3 separate regions of the Homo sapiens genome follow, and all the other regions are linked to region 2. The links are contacts of gene promoters, found by promoter capture Hi-C in human tissues and cell types (Jung and others, 2019). All regions are on one chromosome and are shown on one strand. The core of a region is centred on a gene start or on the middle of the fragment in contact, and the rest is flanking DNA. Distances in the headings are between cores, read along the strand shown. Region 1 overlaps SPTAN1 (spectrin alpha, non-erythrocytic 1). Region 2 holds the start of DOLK (dolichol kinase). Region 3 overlaps SPTAN1 (spectrin alpha, non-erythrocytic 1).

The links. Contacts are between HindIII fragments. The study calls those that stand out against the background at their distance.
Region 1: a contact is called between a fragment that was not itself captured here and the fragment with the promoter of DOLK in region 2, in 2 of the 25 tissues and cell types used here (dorsolateral prefrontal cortex and heart right ventricle).
Region 3: a contact is called between a fragment that was not itself captured here and the fragment with the promoter of DOLK in region 2, in 1 of the 25 tissues and cell types used here (aorta).

Annotation. Positions count from the first base shown.
Region 1 is chr9:128,575,113-128,578,359 of GRCh38, reverse strand. SPTAN1 (spectrin alpha, non-erythrocytic 1) reads right to left here. Exons shown (of 57, transcript NM_001130438.3): 5 at 3,015-3,161; 6 at 1,404-1,537; 7 at 1,087-1,231; 8 at 854-1,008; 9 at 115-250. Among named protein-coding and RNA genes, the nearest start is that of SPTAN1, 24 kb to the right of the region's middle. The HindIII fragment of the contact is 4,698 bases long and covers 1-3,247 here.
Region 2 is chr9:128,945,316-128,948,893 of GRCh38, reverse strand. It overlaps DOLK (dolichol kinase), which reads left to right and starts at 1,291. Exons shown (of 1, transcript NM_014908.4): 1 at 1,291-3,364. The coding sequence starts at 1,591. The coding sequence ends at 3,207. It overlaps NUP188 (nucleoporin 188), which reads right to left and starts at 1,195. Exons shown (of 44, transcript NM_015354.3): 1 at 1,143-1,195. The coding sequence starts at 1,174. RefSeq lists enhancers at 1,076-1,125, 845-1,406, 1,476-1,545, 1,407-1,968, 1,969-2,531. The HindIII fragment of the contact is 11,289 bases long and covers 1-3,578 here.
Region 3 is chr9:128,612,861-128,616,192 of GRCh38, reverse strand. It overlaps SPTAN1 (spectrin alpha, non-erythrocytic 1), which reads right to left. Exons shown (of 57, transcript NM_001130438.3): 40 at 2,708-2,812; 41 at 353-561. Among named protein-coding and RNA genes, the nearest start is that of DYNC2I2, 42 kb to the left of the region's middle. The HindIII fragment of the contact is 6,237 bases long and covers 1-3,332 here.

The sequences.
Region 1 (3,247 bases), core at 730-3,229, 370 kb after region 2:
ACACCTGTGAATAACATGGTACCAACGCCGACTATAGGCCTCACCCAACACTGATAAACTGGTGCATTATAAGCTAAAATCTTCACTTCTGGAAGATTCTAGAGATACCATTACCTTGTGCTCTTGGTGTCTATCTAGCAGGGCTTCAGCCCCAGCCACATCACTGGCAAGCTCATCTGCATTGATGAGGGCTTTCATCTCAGTCACCCAGCTGGTGAGGTCACGGAAGTCAGCAAGGAAGCGTTGAAGCCTAGGGAAAACCAAAGGAAGACATTATGTTTCCAGCGGAGGTTCCAGGGTGGAAAATGGCCTCCCTAAAGCTCTGAATTCTATGTTCTCAAATGTCTAACAAACTATATAAATTCTAATTCTGGGAAATATGAAAATTTCCCAATCTAGACTGTGAAGGAAAGCAAGAGAAGGCTGAAATCAACCCTTTAAAACTTAGGTTCTCTCCATCACTATAATGCCCCAATCCTGTCCCACATTTTCAACTTCCTTGTTATTCCCAGGTTCAACCCTTGGCTAGCAAGGATTCTTTTCCTTTCTAATCCTGGTTTTAATAAGATATTTCATGTGATACTCAGATACTTAAAGGGACATTCCCATTCTATCAATCATAATGCAGTGATGCAGAATAGAAGAATTTATGAAGTTGTAAATACCATACGTATACTACACATGATACAGTTGCCAGTCTCCAAACAGAGAGAACATAGGTAAGAAGTGATTTGCATTTGTAGGTGATACCTGACACTTTCACAGAACACAGAACAGACCCTTAACTCTGCTATTCCTGCTTCCAAAAAAGAAGCCAAATGATACTGGTTAAGACCTGGAGCATTATTTGCACCTGTATGAATCATTGAGCCGTGCATGTCTCTCTGCCGCCAAGGTGCGGATCTGCTCCCAGTTTGTAATCAGTTCCTCTCGCTTCACTTGAATCTGTGTTGCACTCAGAGGGTGGGACTGTTGCAGGCGGTCAGCCTCAGCACACAGGGCTTTGACCTAGAAATGAACTCCGTCAGAACTATTCTCCTGACCCTTGGTAACTTATTTACAGAATCAGCTGCTTGTAAAACCCACCTTGTCTTCTAGAGCAGCAAGATCTCTCTCCAGACCCTCGTGCTTCCGAAGCAGAGCCTGAACACTTGCCAGGTCTCGGCCAAAATCATCAGAGGCCATTAACTGCTCCTTTTCCTTAATCCAACTGATAGTCTCATCCACATCCCTACAGAACAAAGGCACCAGTTAATCCACAGCAATGATGACTCCCTAGAACTAGGAACACCCCATGGGACCAAGGCCTAGTCAGCCTCGACAGCTCACCAGCACATGCCCTGTGCTTCACAACTCCCCTCCAGGTTGAGACCCATTCCCCAAAGCCCACTCTGGCTTGACACCTGTTAAAGCGCTGAACTTCTGCTGCCCCAAAGAGCTTCCCCTGCCTCTGCAGAGCCAGGCCCTTCAGCCGCTGCCAGGCTGCATTGACTTCATCCTGCTTAGTCTTGATCAGTTCCTCCTCAGGGTGCTGCTCCTAAACAAGGAAGAGAAGAGACTGGATTTGTACACAACTTCTGGCTCCTCCAACTAGTTACCCTGGGGTTGGTTCCTTGAAGCATCTCAGCAAATCACCACTCTGAAGAGAATCACAAGAAATAATGGTCAACATGATACAAAGTGAACTACAACTCCAAAGAGTTTCTATTTCTTATGTAAAAAGGGGAGAGCCATTCTCTATCTTTTGGAGTAGTGTGGTTAGTCTATAAGGTGGTTATGTGCAAAAGTGCCAAAAACCTTTATGTTAATAAATAGTTTGGCAACAACTGTGTGGTAACTTTATCAATGTACTCATCTACCCTAACTGCTTGAAAATTTGGTATTTCAGATGTTCATGAGGCTGTTAAGCATTCTTGCACATAAACATAATTTTCGGGGCTCAAGAGTTTGTCCCTGGCTTTAGACTGACGACATTTCTTTTTTTCTTTTTTGAGACAGGGTCTTGCTATGTTACCCAGGCTGGTCTCAAGTGATCCTGTCTTGTCAGCCTGAGTCTGAGTAGAGTAGCTGGGTCTATAGGCAGGTGCCACTGCATCAAGCTTAGAGACATTTCTTTAAAAGTATCCTTCCCTACCAACCACATTTTGGTGTTTTAAAAAATATGATACAAAGTAATAAAATGAAGCATTTCAGGGTTCTTGAATCCATCTGGGATACCATGGGTTTGGCCTGACTACTTTTCTCAAGCTCAACCGCAGGAAAGCTTAGGGTTTGGAAAAGCAACACATCTGTCACTGTGGAAGGGTGAGATATTTCTGAGGAATGCCGGGTATCTTTCTCTTAATCACTGGCCAGAAAATGGAAACAAGTACCAGCCTATAAGCAGATTTATACACTTAAAATTTGTACCCCCCAAATCAAATTTCCCTAAAAGTAAAAACTCTCTGGTTCCGAGTACTTGATGTCTTTGGAACCCTTTGGACTCGTAGTGGAAGCAGCTTACAGGATTGTACACGTGGGCACTGGGGAAGGGTTGTCATTCCCTCTTAATGGGCTCCAGCGCCAGAGTGGAGAGCCTATTCACGACAAGGTTCTCCCAGGCTCCCAAGAGAGCCCAGGGAAGCTTCAAATAAAAAAGGAAGGCAAGAGCCCTAATGCATTGGTGGACATCTGCCAATACTAACTTAGCATTCACCACCACACCCTCGTCTGAGAAACCCTGAGACCTAGCTTCAGCAGTCCAATAAAAGCTTCACCCAGCCCTACCCAAAAGTGGGTAGAGGAAACAGATCAAATGAACTCTGCCCTTCCTGCCCAAGGCAACACATTGAAAAGCATTTTCCAATTTAGGAGTAATCAGTATTGTGCCTCACATCTAAACAAAACTCTCAGACATGCTTACAAAAACTTGCTCACTCAGAAATTAGGGGACCAATCATCAAAATTTTATCCTGAATATACTAAAAAGTTAACATAATAATGTTGTGAGAAGCATACAGCACTTTGCTATTTACCTGTATGAGTTTGGCAGCAAACTGGTTCACTTCATTAACTCTTTCTTCATGAGCAGCCATATCTGTTTGAAACTCTTCAAATTTCTTCTGTAAAACCTCTACATGCTCCAGATCCTGGCCCAGCTCTTCAGAAGTAACAATTGCTTCCTATTCAGGGACCATAAGAGAGCCAGAGTCACCAACCAACATTTGTTAACAATGGCTTCCAGAAACATCAAACAGACACATTAGGG
Region 2 (3,578 bases), core at 42-2,541:
ATTAGCCAGGCGTTGTGGCGGGTGCCTGTATCCCCAGCTACTTGGGAGGCTGAGGCAGGAGAATGGCATGAACCCGGGAGACAGAGCTTGCAGTGAGCCGAGATCGTGCCATTGCACTCCAGCCTGGGCGACAGAGCGAGACTCCGTCTCAAAAAAAAAAAAAAAAAAAAAAAAAAAAAAAAGTGGGGAAAACACTGCTGGCACAGGGAAGGATAAGAGACGGGGATGTTTAACTTTGAGGGAGGGTGGTGGGAAGAACGAAGACCTTCGAGCTGCAATGTGGAAGACAGAAGGAGGCGTGGTGGTCTGGTTATAGCACTGGAGGTACGCAGACTTCAGCTTGAAGGCTCTCTTTATCACTTGGCTAGCTCTGAGCCGGACTTCTGAGTCATCTGTGAAATAGAAGGCGCCTCTCGGAGTTGCGAGAATTGAATGAGATAACTCCTGGGAAGCGCTCCACCAGGGTCTGACGCTAGAAAGCACTTTGTCAGAATTGTAGTTTTCGTATATAATATTTCATCTTCTTGTCCCTAAAGCCTAGTTCAATCCCTGAAATCTCTTGGAGGATTTGGACATGCTGGCTGACTTGATTCAGTGCAAGAAAAGAACGATACGAGGCGCGGAGAGGACAGAAGCCGCAAGCGTGGCTCCGCTCAACGCGAAACAAAATCCTAACAAGAACAGATCGCGGGAGAGGTCGGGGAGCCAGCAGGGCGCACTCGACGCCGGGGCAGGACACTGGGAGCCTGCAGCAGGGACGTGGGTGGGGGGTACCCCAGGAGACCGCAAAGCTCCCCGTGGCTCGAGGGAGCGTCACGGCCGGAGAAGGAAGCGCGGGTGGGGCGCCAAGAGACGCGTCGGAGGTGAGAGAGGAGGAAGGCAAAGGGCCCTGGGTGAGGAGATGGGAGGCCGAGCGCGGAGGGAAGGGGTGAAGAGCCGGCCCCCCTCCTGAAGAAGACTCTTCAGATCCCCGCGCGCGGGGACCGTTTGGACGTAACCGCCTCCCGTCTCGGTGCCCGTCCATCCAGCCGGGGTTGGCCCTGCCACTGTCGCCACATCCCGCCTCCAATTCCCGCCCCGCTTCCGCTCGGCTTTGACACCGCGCTTCACAGCCACCCCGGTCCATTCGACCCGCTCCGCACCTCACACACGGCCCGCCGGCGGCCGCCGCCATCTTCGCGCGCCCGCTCGCCCTAACCCCGCCCCCAGACGCCATGCCCACGTGACCGCTCGCCCCCGGACCCGGAGCGTGGGCGGGGATTTCGTCACGTGACGTTGCCGCGGGGCGGTGCCAAGATGGCGAGGCCCAAAGAGGTGAGGAGCCGGCAGCGGGGGCGGCTGTAACTGTGAGGAAGGCTGCAGAGTGGCGACGTCTACGCCGTAGGTTGGAGGCTGTGGGGGGTGGCCGGGCGCCAGCTCCCAGGCCGCAGAAGTGACCTGCGGTGGAGTTCCCTCCTCGCTGCTGGAGAACGGAGGGAGAAGGTTGCTGGCCGGGTGAAAGTGCCTCCCTCTGCTTGACGGGGCTGAGGGGCCCGAAGTCTAGGGCGTCCGTAGTCGCCCCGGCCTCCGTGAAGCCCCAGGTCTAGAGATATGACCCGAGAGTGCCCATCTCCGGCCCCGGGGCCTGGGGCTCCGCTGAGTGGATCGGTGCTGGCAGAGGCGGCAGTAGTGTTTGCAGTGGTGCTGAGCATCCACGCAACCGTATGGGACCGATACTCGTGGTGCGCCGTGGCCCTCGCAGTGCAGGCCTTCTACGTCCAATACAAGTGGGACCGGCTGCTACAGCAGGGAAGCGCCGTCTTCCAGTTCCGAATGTCCGCAAACAGTGGCCTATTGCCCGCCTCCATGGTCATGCCTTTGCTTGGACTAGTCATGAAGGAGCGGTGCCAGACTGCTGGGAACCCGTTCTTTGAGCGTTTTGGCATTGTGGTGGCAGCCACTGGCATGGCAGTGGCCCTCTTCTCATCAGTGTTGGCGCTCGGCATCACTCGCCCAGTGCCAACCAACACTTGTGTCATCTTGGGCTTGGCTGGAGGTGTTATCATTTATATCATGAAGCACTCGTTGAGCGTGGGGGAGGTGATCGAAGTCCTGGAAGTCCTTCTGATCTTCGTTTATCTCAACATGATCCTGCTGTACCTGCTGCCCCGCTGCTTCACCCCTGGTGAGGCACTGCTGGTATTGGGTGGCATTAGCTTTGTCCTCAACCAGCTCATCAAGCGCTCTCTGACACTGGTGGAAAGTCAGGGGGACCCAGTGGACTTCTTCCTGCTGGTGGTGGTAGTAGGGATGGTACTCATGGGCATTTTCTTCAGCACTCTGTTTGTCTTCATGGACTCAGGCACCTGGGCCTCCTCCATCTTCTTCCACCTCATGACCTGTGTGCTGAGCCTTGGTGTGGTCCTACCCTGGCTGCACCGGCTCATCCGCAGGAATCCCCTGCTCTGGCTTCTTCAGTTTCTCTTCCAGACAGACACCCGCATCTACCTCCTAGCCTATTGGTCTCTGCTGGCCACCTTGGCCTGCCTGGTGGTGCTGTACCAGAATGCCAAGCGGTCATCTTCCGAGTCCAAGAAGCACCAGGCCCCCACCATCGCCCGAAAGTATTTCCACCTCATTGTGGTAGCCACCTACATCCCAGGTATCATCTTTGACCGGCCACTGCTCTATGTAGCCGCCACTGTATGCCTGGCGGTCTTCATCTTCCTGGAGTATGTGCGCTACTTCCGCATCAAGCCTTTGGGTCACACTCTACGGAGCTTCCTGTCCCTTTTTCTGGATGAACGAGACAGTGGACCACTCATTCTGACACACATCTACCTGCTCCTGGGCATGTCTCTTCCCATCTGGCTGATCCCCAGACCCTGCACACAGAAGGGTAGCCTGGGAGGAGCCAGGGCCCTCGTCCCCTATGCCGGTGTCCTGGCTGTGGGTGTGGGTGATACTGTGGCCTCCATCTTCGGTAGCACCATGGGGGAGATCCGCTGGCCTGGAACCAAAAAGACTTTTGAGGGGACCATGACATCTATATTTGCGCAGATCATTTCTGTAGCTCTGATCTTAATCTTTGACAGTGGAGTGGACCTAAACTACAGTTATGCTTGGATTTTGGGGTCCATCAGCACTGTGTCCCTCCTGGAAGCATACACTACACAGATAGACAATCTCCTTCTGCCTCTCTACCTCCTGATATTGCTGATGGCCTAGCTGTTACAGTGCAGCAGCAGTGACGGAGGAAACAGACATGGGGAGGGTGAACAGTCCCCACAGCAGACAGCTACTTGGGCATGAAGAGCCAAGGTGTGAAAAGCAGATTTGATTTTTCAGTTGATTCAGATTTAAAATAAAAAGCAAAGCTCTCCTAGTTCTAGTTTTGCTGATATATTTTTTTTTTTATTTTTTTTTGAGACAGTTTTGCTCTTGTTGCCCAGGTTGGAGTGCAATGGCGCGATCTCGGCTCACCGCAACCTCCACCTCCCAGGTTCAAGCGATTCTCCTGTCCCAGCCTCCTGAGTAGCTGGGATTACAGGCATGCGCCACCATGCCCAGCTAATTTTGTATTTTGAGTAGAGACAGGG
Region 3 (3,332 bases), core at 391-2,890, 330 kb after region 2:
TCAGTAGACTGACATTTTCGGGGACAGATAGAGAATAAGAAAAAAAGCAACTCCTTCCTTGGAGAAGTGATCTTCTCCAGAAGCTCAGAAACAAACTCACTAACTTTCACGGGAATCTAAAAGGCAGGGTCTAGACAGGGCCTATGTAGCCAGCATGGATCACCACCACCGCCAATTATCATCACTGTAAACCCGGAAAGCAGAAGACACTGAGGCATCCCACGACTGTGTGCCCAAGCTGGGATCCCAGTCCAGCAGGGTTTCCAGCCTCACCACTCAACAGTCAGCCTGTGGTTCCTGCTGCCCACTATTACAGGCGTAAGGGGCCTTCTAGAGGGCTGAGAAGACATACTTGATCCAGGACTCCTCGTCATCCATGTCCCGGAAGAACTGGTGCAGGCGATGGGATTCATTCAGCTTGGCTCGCCGGGAGGCCGCCATGCTCTTGATCTTCTGGAAGCGCCCGTTGATGGTGTCCCTCTTGTCCTTTACTTGGGAGGTGTCGAAGGCACTGCTGGTCATCAGGCTGTCTGCCTGGCTGTTCAGGTCCTTCAGGCGATCCTGGGGCAGGGGACATAAGAGGGTCAGAAACTGGGTCTCCCACAGCTATCTGCTTGAACATAAGAACTCAGGAATTCCTTACTGAGATGTGGAGTGTTGATATTCTCAAAGTCTGTTATGTGGACCTCTGGCATTCTATCAACTCACACTATTTTCATAACATTATAAGACATTATTATTTTTTACCGTGTGGACATTTGCACTGATAGTACAAAAGCAATGGAGGAGGGGACATGCTGGTGCTTTAGCTCAAATCAAGGCAGTGGCAAACTACTAGCAGAAGTGGATTCTTCACTGCCACCCACTCACAGTGAAAAAAAAATGCTGTTTCACTTAAAAATGTCCTTAAAAAGGCAGTGAAAGTTAATTTTACTGAGTAGCCATTCTTTTGTACTTGAAAGAACAACCACCGAACAAACTATGCTCATTCAGACTTGGTATCTCACAGATACTCGGTCCAGAATAAATAAAGTGAGCCTGTCACTTCAAAGAATACTGACAGTTTGTTACTAATGATAAAATTCAAACTTTTATGAGAAAGTTAGAATTTTAGAAAACTTACACCCACCACCAGGAGCCTGAAGGCTTCCTAATATGTGAAGATTTTTCTAATGAAATTGGTGGTGGTATTAACTGCAATGTTTTGATATCATATAATCACATGTGTCAACATATAGAACAGGCATAACTCAGTGAAGCAATATTTACCAAATGAGCCATGCATGATGTTGCAAAATCATGCACAGGTAAGAGCTACATTCAAAGCCCAAGATGGACCAGTGGGTTTTAATATAATCCAGTATAAAAAGTTTACTGACAAGGTTTCAGGGGCCACTTTGCAACTAACCCCCCAACAACTTTTTTTTCCTTGCTCTGTCATCCAAGAGTGCGGTGGTGTGATCATGACACACACACTGCAGCCTCAACCTCCTGCCTGGACTCAAGTGAACCTCCCGCCTCGGCCTCCAAGTAACTGGGACTATAGGTGCATACCCCAACGTTTGGCTAATTAATTTTTGTGTTTTTTTTTTGTTTTTTTTTTGAGACGTAGTCTCATTCTGTCGCCCAGGCTGGAATACAGTTACACAATCTCGGCTCACTGCAACCTCTGCCTCCCGGGCTCAAGCAATTCTCCTGCCTCAGCCTCCCAAGTAGCCGGGATTTATAGGCACATGCCACGCCCTGCTAATTTTTTGTATTTCAGTAGAAACGGGGTTTCACTGTGTTACCCAAGCTGGTCTCGAACTCCTGAGCTCAGGCGATCCACCCGCCTCGGCCTCCCAAAGTGCTACGATTACAGGCATGACTCACCATGCCCAGCCTAATTTTTGTATTTTTTTGTACAGACAGAGTCTCATCATGTTGCCCAGGCTGGTCTTGAACTCCTGGGCTCACATGATCTGCCTGCCTCGGCCTCCCAAAGTGCTGGGATTACAGGTGTGAGCCACTGTACCTGACCACAGCTAAGCTTTAAGAAACTATGACTTTGGTATAGTATCAAAGAAAATTATTCACACTTACCCGAATCAAAATATTCCTCCCTTTTCTACCTACCTACCTGTGTAAAACTGAATTTTCATCCAATGCAAAACACCACAACCTGAATTCAGCATTTTTTTTTTTTTTTGAGATGGAGTCTTGCTCTGTTGCCTAGGCTGGAGTGCCGTGGCGCGATCTTGGCTTACCGCAACCTCCGCCTCCTGGGCTCAAGTGATTCTCCTACCTCAGTCGCCTGAGTACCTGGGATTACAGGCAGCCACCACCACGCCCGGCTAATTTTTGTATTTTTAGTAGAGACGGAGGTCTCACCACGTTGGCCGGAGTGGTCTCGAACTCCTGACCTCAGGAGATCTGCCTGTCTGGGCCTCCCAAAGTGCTGGGATTACAGCCGTAAGCCACTGCACCTGGCCTTAAAATTTATGTAATTTTTAATAATGGTGAGCATTGATAAAACCTACATAATAAAAATCTCTCAAGAGCCCTCAATAACTGCCAAGTGTATAATGATCCTGAGGCCACAACCTTTGAGAATGGCTGCTTTAAGTGAAAGAAGTCACTCTCTTTTCTCAAACACGCTTGTTTTCCTTAGGAGTCAGGCAGAGCTGTGTCCCAGGCACTCGGGCCTGGCCCGCCTCCCTTTGCTTACCTCATGGGCAGATATATCTGCTTCCAGCAGTTGATGCTTTTTCAGCAGGTTGTTCACAGAAGCTAGGTCTTTGCCATAATCTTCGGATGCCAGCAGGGCCTCCACCTGGCAATGAAAACACAAAAAGCAAAGGCTACTGTGTGGTGTATACTCAGCATTCTGGAAAATTCAGGTTGCCCAGTGGCTATTCCAGGGCCTTGCTTGGACAGTTGAATACTTCTCCATCACAATGTGTTACTGTGATTCCTAGCCACCCCAATCAGCCTGCCCGGCCTGAGACACTCTCTCCACTCGGTCAGTCAAACCTAGACTCCAGAGTCTATTCATAGTAAATACTACAGCTAAGGCAAAATGCACAGCAATCCTAGTTCAAGGAAACCCCCCTAGGAAAGAATCAGCAGTGTGGACAAAGATTAATATTCAAAGATATTCACTACAGCAAAATATATACACCAAAAGGCTGGGAACACCTCAATGTCCAACAATATGGGAATGGTTACATTATGGCATGGCTCTATGATAAACTTACGCAATTATTAAAAAAAAAAATTTTTTTTTTTTGAGATGAAGTCTCGCTCTGTTGCCCAGGCTGGAGTGCAATGGTGTGATCCCAGCTCACTGCAAC